2 separate regions of the Homo sapiens genome follow, and region 2 is linked to region 1. Evidence: promoter capture Hi-C in 16 types of primary human blood cells and fetal thymus (Javierre and others, 2016). All regions are on one chromosome and are shown on one strand. Each heading gives the region's core, a stretch centred on a gene start or on the middle of the fragment in contact. The rest is flanking DNA. Distances are from core to core; before and after follow the strand shown.

The links. The method cuts DNA at HindIII sites, captures the fragments that hold promoters and counts their contacts. A CHiCAGO score of 5 or more calls a contact.
Region 2: a fragment that was not itself captured here is called in contact with the fragment with the promoter of RSBN1L in region 1 in 1 of 17 cell types (fetal thymus); the score reaches 5.9 in fetal thymus.

The regions. Positions count from the first base shown.
Region 1 is chr7:77,694,624-77,697,938 of GRCh38, reverse strand. RSBN1L (round spermatid basic protein 1 like) reads right to left here and starts at 1,480. Exons shown (of 8, transcript NM_198467.3): 1 at 884-1,480. The coding sequence starts at 1,469. APTR (Alu-mediated CDKN1A/p21 transcriptional regulator) reads left to right here and starts at 1,674. Exons shown (of 2, transcript NR_134254.1): 1 at 1,674-2,043. RefSeq lists silencers at 260-359, 650-969, 1,440-1,659 and enhancers at 1,180-1,409, 594-1,489, 1,490-2,385. The HindIII fragment of the contact is 2,163 bases long and covers 1-2,131 here.
Region 2 is chr7:87,147,642-87,150,956 of GRCh38, reverse strand. No RefSeq gene overlaps it. Among named protein-coding and RNA genes, the nearest start is that of DMTF1, 3.2 kb to the left of the region's middle. The HindIII fragment of the contact is 1,663 bases long and covers 723-2,385 here.

The DNA.
Region 1 (3,315 bases), core at 231-2,730:
TCCGTATGTTGCACTATTGTCAGATCATTGTGTATCCGTAGCTGAAGTGGTGGAAACACCTGAAAAATTATACGACTAGCCTACATTTAAAAACAAAACTGACCCTGTCTGACAAGAACCCTTAAGAATTCGCCTTTTTCTAATGCTCAAACATTCTGCAGCCGCTTGATCTGGCGAAAAATCGTCAAAGCTCCTGGTTTTATCATTTGCTGCAGGGAAAAAAAGAATATGGCTGAAAATTCTTTCAGAAGGGTGGTATTTCAAACAGGACCACCCAAAACACTTAAGAATACGCAGCGGAGAGTAGGGTGCAGGGAGGGTACCTTACGAAACAGCGCACTTCGGGCCCTGCACGCTACCTCATTTCCCTAATAGGGATGAAAAGCTCAGGCCTCTGGTAGCTTCCAGCTGACGCCAGTGCTCTCTCCACACCCCTTTTTTGACAGGATTATCCGGGGTTGAACGCTGTGTCACAAATACGAATTCCCGCGACCACGTCTAAGTGGTCTAACAATCAATCAAGCATCTTTTACAAAACCAAACCCTTCCCCCATCCCGTTCCCTCCATCTCTCTCCCTAGCCAAACAAACCTAGGAGAGTCCTCAAGATGGATTTTCACAAATCCTGCAGCGCACTAACTGGGAGGAAGAAACGATACAGAAAATAAGAGTGTCGGCCATCCCCCTCTCTGCAACCGAAATTACAGGCTCCATTTCCTGTCCCCTTGGGAACTGCAAAATCCTCTGCTGAAAACCGGACGCCTCCCAGCCCCTCCAGGCCGGCGCACGCGGCCGCCGCGCTCCCCCTTCCCGGGCCCCGTGGGCGCCAGGGGGCGGCGGGGACCCACGGCGCCCTCCCCTCCCCCTCCCCGCACGGCACCCACCTCGGGGCAGCGGCTTCACCTCCCCGTTCTCCTCCCGGGAGGCCCCGCCGGCCTCTCGGGCCCCACCGAGACCGTGCCTCCTCCTCTCCTTCTCCCGCTTCTCCTTAGGTCTGCGCGACTTGGCGTTAGCCGAGGCAGCGGCGGCGGCGGCGGGCAGGAGGAGATGGTGAGGCTGAGCGTGCAGCAGCGTAGGAGGGACCAGCAGTTTGCGCGGCACCGGCTGAGACAAGGAAGCGGAGGCTGAGGAGGGAACGGCCGTGCCAGCGGAGAAAGAGAAACTGCTCCGAGAAGAGGACGGGGAGGGAGCAGCAGACAGAGGGGCAAAGCTCCAAGACGCGGGGCTGCCATAGCTCTGAGGCGAAGGTGCTGCCGGCGGCTGCAGCTGCCTGCTGTTCCCGCCGCTGCCCCCTTCTCCGTTCACTCTCCGCGGTGCCTTCTTCTCCTCAGTCCGGACCTTCTTGGCGGACAGAGAACCCGGAGGGTCCCGGGAGGAGAGTTGCAGCTTGCCAAACGGTTCTTTCTCCGAGACGGTGGCGGTGGGGGCCGCGGCAGCGACACAGTGCACGGGGCTCGGCGGTTCCGCCATTTTGCGCTCCTGTTGTATTTACTCTCCTCCGCTAGCCGGCGCGGGGCAGGGGGCGGGCCCTCCGCGAGGGGTAGGGAAGGGGCGGAGCGGCCAGGCCACCAGCCGGCATTGCTCCATTGGGCAAGCCACGCTGAGGGATCCACCTAAGAGCCAATCAAAGGCACAAACATCAGACGAAGGGGCGGGATCGCCACAGGGACCCTCTTCGGAGGTCAGAGCTCGGCGGGGTGCGGCTAGTGGCGGAGCGCGCTGCGAGGGGAGGGCTTTCCACTGTCGCTGGCGTGAACTCGCGTGCCCGGTGGGTATCAGGGAAGAACCCCCGCCCCGGACCCCCAGATCTGCCATGGCCGAGGTAGCGATCGTCTCTGCGGCCACGAAGACTGTTTTAACTTGTACCACTTTCCCTTCCATTTTTCCTGGGGTGCCTCTCACCCTGCATCTGCGCGTTCAGCAAGCTGGATTTCGGGAATGCTCAGTTCAGAAGAGAAAAAATTGCCGGGAATCAAGTCCTTCTTTTTGTTAGTCGGTAGTCGATTGATGGGAAGTGTTCAAAATCATTCGATGTGGTGACAAGGTACGTTATTATTGCTAGATCATGTGCTGTAATCCATTGAAGGAGATAACTTCCAGCAAATCTAGAACTTTAGTATTACTTACAAGCTTGAAGGTGAGAGTCTCCCTTTGGAGACTTTTGAACTGTTGTGACTAGACCCTTAAGATTTTTATTTTATTTATTTATTTATTTATTGGGACGGAGTTTTGCTCTGTTGTCGAGGCTGGAGTGCCGTGGCGCGATCTCGGCTCACCGCAACCTCCGCCTCCCAGATTCAAGCGATTCTCCTGCCTCAGCCTCCCCAGTAACAGGGACTACAGGCGTCCGGCACCATGCTTGGCTAATTTTTGTGTTTATTAGAGACGGGGTTTCACCATGTTGGCCAGGCTGGACTCGAACTCCTGATCTCAGGTGAGCGGCCCACCTCCGCTTCCCAAAGTGCTGGGATTACAGGCGTGAGCCACCATGTGCGGCCTTAAGATTTGAATTTTATAATAATTATTATAGCCGGGCGCGGTGGCTCACACCTGTAATCCCAGCACTTTGGGAGACCGGGGCGGGCGGATCACGAGGTCAGAAGTTCGAGACCAGCCTGACCAACATGGTGAAACCCCGTCTCTACTAAAAATGCAAAAATTAGCTGGGCATGGAAGCGCGCACCTGTAATCCCAGCTACTGGGGAGGCTGGGGCAGGAGAATCGCTTGAACCCAGGAGGCGGAGGTTGCAGTGAGCCGAGACTGCGCCACTGCACTCCAGCTTGGGCGACAGGGCAAGACTCCGTCTCAAAAAATAATAATAATAATAATAATATTATTATTATTATAACGTAGACTTGCCAGGAAAAATTCGTTGGCGATTATTTATGGATGTTTGAAAAGCAAGAATTGTTTTTTTAGGTTTCTGTATTTTAGCGTTTAGTAAGCACACTGCGTGTTCGATGTTTTGTAAGCATGTGCTTTGATTTTTGCTTCGAAAATAAGCAATTTGGGGAGATGGGTTTTAGCTTAAAAGATAAGGAATGTGGCCGGGCGCGGTGGCTCATACCTGTAATCCCAGCACTTTGGGAGGCCAAGGCGGGCAGATCACAATGTCAGGAGTTCGAGACCAGCCTGGCCAACATAGTGAAACCCTGCCTCTACTAAAAATACATAATTAGCTGGGCGTAGTGGCATGCGCCTGTAGTCCCAGCTACTCTGGAGGCTGAGGCAGAAGAATCCCTTGAATCTGTAAGGCAGAGGTTGCAGTAAGCTGAGTTCGTGCCATTGCACTCCACCCGGGGCGACAGTGCCTAT
Region 2 (3,315 bases), core at 305-2,804, 9.5 Mb before region 1:
ATTATTTTTGCTAAGGCACAAAATAGTGATATATAAATTATAGTCGGGCTATCCATTCTCCTCTGCTAAATTTTAGGTCAGCCTGCACGCTGCTAACTCCCCGCAAAAAGTCAAGTGCATCCTCATAACTAAATTCTCCCTTTCTGGTTGAGTTTCTTTTATAACTACCTTTTCCCAAGTCAATTGGTATTTATTTGGGGATGACAAATGTATTTTAATATTAGCTTAATGCATAATTTAAAAAAATATAATAACGTCTCTATCCCTTTAGCTTGAATAATCAATGTAAAGACTATCCATAACACAACTTGATTCCTAGAGCAATTTTCTGCAGTTATACTTCTATGTTATCCGTACCTCATTATTTAGTCAATGTGTACCTAGGGAATGGATGAGGTTTTAAATATTATCCAAGGATTTACCTATTTAGGAATTAAATGTTTTGTAGAAAAATCATTAGAAGTATTTCTATCCTAAACAATAATTATTAAAGTATTTATAGCTTAGCTATGGTATTTACTGCATTTGCTAGTTAAAATTGACTTTGTTGGACTCCAGGTGTCTATAACACTTTTGTGAACCTCATCAGTGATTGATGATGAAATTGCCTTTTATGACAGGTTGATATATTAATATAAAGTATTTCAAATACTGAGAAGCAGGTTCTGTTGTTTCATGATCATCTTTTGCTAATTCAGAAAAAAAAAAGATGTTTATAAGCTTTTGTTCAAAGTAAAAGAAAATTACAATTACTGAGTAATTTTCTTTCTACACAGGCTCTGAGTCCTGTTAATATAGCTGATGGGTATACACTGTAGGGCCTTCCAGCTGATGGAGATTGCTGTGCTAATGGAGGAATGAATAAACTGTCCCAGTTATGCCCACACACCAGGCTTTACCAGGTGGTCTCCTGTCTCAGATTCTTCCTGTAGGCTTCCCTCTGGGCCTTATGACACTCCATCTTACAATCCTTTTCCCGCCTTGCATTTTGCCTATGTGTCTCATCTCTGCAATCCTTTTAATACCTCAGCCTGGTGACAACCTCTCTATATCCACTTCACTTTTTTCTTCTTTTGTGGTAAATCTTTGTTGAGACCTATTGATAGAATATTAGCCAGAAAAGTGTTTCCTTATCAAGGGAATGGAGAGCTAAGGCGTCCAATACTCCTAGCCAATAAGGATAAAAATTTTTGTTCTGTCTTTGTAATTTTGGTGTGCAAAACAAAACAGTTCAGATACTTCACTAAAACAGGATAATATCCAGACCCAGACTCAAAGACCTGTTCCTTTATAATCTAGCATGGAAGAGAGAGGGACAATGTATTAGTTAACTAAGCAATAATTGCCATGTTTTGTAAGTTCTGAGAAAGATACAACTTGGGTGCTCTGAAAGTGAACTTTTACATAGAGAGTTCAGAGTAGGCCTTTCTGAGAAGATACTTAAGCAGAAAGGTAAGAATAAAGAAGCATAGTAGGGGGTGCAAGGTGGGAAAGCATTTGTCAAGCTAGTGCATGAAAGCATATTTGCAGAAAGCAACTGGCTTGTAAAATGTTTATAAAATGGTGAAAGCAGAGCACTGCCAGGTGATAGGCTGTCCCTTGCAAATGTTAGCTGAATTTCTCAAAAAACTTTATTGTGGTAAGAACACAACATGACATCTGCCCTCAATAAAATTTTAAGTATATAAAACATTATCATTGACTATGGGTACAATGTTGTACAGCAGATCTCTAGAGCTTATTCATCTTACTTGAAACTTTATGCCCGCTGATTACTAACTCCCCATCCCCTCTCCCCAGCCCCTGGTAAACCACCATTCCACTCTGATTCTAAAAATTCGTCTATTTTAGATACTTAACATAAGTGAAATCATGTAGTATTTGTATTTCTGTGACTGGTTTATTTCACTTAGTATAATGTCCTCAAGGTTCATCCATGTTGTTGCATATTGCAGAATTTTCTTCTTTTTTAAGACTGAATAGTATTCCTATTCCTCTGAGACTAGAGCTCAGTGCATGCCCAGACATAGCAGAAATGGGCCATCTTACCCCTTTGCCATGAGCTTTGATTTGCTAATATATGGCACAATACCTTAACTTAGCAGACATTTAAATGTTTGTTGATATTAAAGATAATTATCTTAAGCCAGAAGACTTGGAAGCTAGCCATTTCTATTCTTTGGCAAGAACAGCTGACTACTGGCGATCACACAGTATTTTTCCAGATAGTGTTGCTACTTGGACAATTCTGGACTAAAACAAACACATGTTACCTATTTTTCAAGTGGAAAGAAGTTATTTTAACACATCACATATTTGGTGTTACTCTAAACCTTATTGCCCAAGTCTTGTGCATCTAGATGCAGTATTTTAAGAATAGAAGCTTGTCATTTTAGCCAGCAGATGTCCCTATTGTTCAGCAGGAGTTTTTTTTTGTTTTTGTTTTTGTTTTTTCTTTCCCAAGTAGTAACTTCAACAGTAGATAGAAATTTTGGGGCCTTCATTGCTAATGATATGCTGTGGCAGACCAAGGACAAGCCTCAACAGTAATAAAGCTAAAGGGATAAGGATTCTGCTTTGAAATCAAAATATGAGAAAGCTCTCTAGAATTAAAAGACTTCTGGATTAATCCCCTTCCCTTCTATTCACTGTACATTTAATTCCTTTGCACAGAATATGCAGTGAAACAGGAAGAAACAAGGAACTACGATAATGTTTATAACTTTCAGGAGTTTGCACATTTGTGATACACTCGGTCATTTCATTCAGCAGCTCTTCCTGAGCACCTCCTTTGGGCTGAGCACTATTTTAGGCACAGGAAATATGATGGAGAACAAGAGAGACAACCCTGCTCTCAAGGAACATATATTCTAATGGAGGAGCTTACATTATAGTAGTATAAGTGCATCTTTGTGCCAAACTTTTTTGGGTAAAGTACTCACTAAATTACTGGCAACTGCCTGTAAAACTTGCTTATAATTAACAATGAGGGAAGAAAACAAAATATGAATCAAATTGATAGCAGTAGGAGGCAGACAAATTCCTTGGTGGATGGGACAGGTCCCAGTGAAACCTGACCTTCAAGCCAAAGACAGCCTGAAGCCTGAAAACCGGGCCGCCAGTTCCAAGTAGAATCCAGTACCCAGAGTGAGAACTTTCTTAATGCCTTTGAATGAATCAAATGGTGCTTTTTCCAGGCCCACTCATGGACCAATCAGCACGCACTTCCTCCCACCCATGGGCCAGTTAACACACACTTCCTCCATTCTGAGCCCATAAAAACCCTGGACTCATCCACGAGTCAACACTACCTGC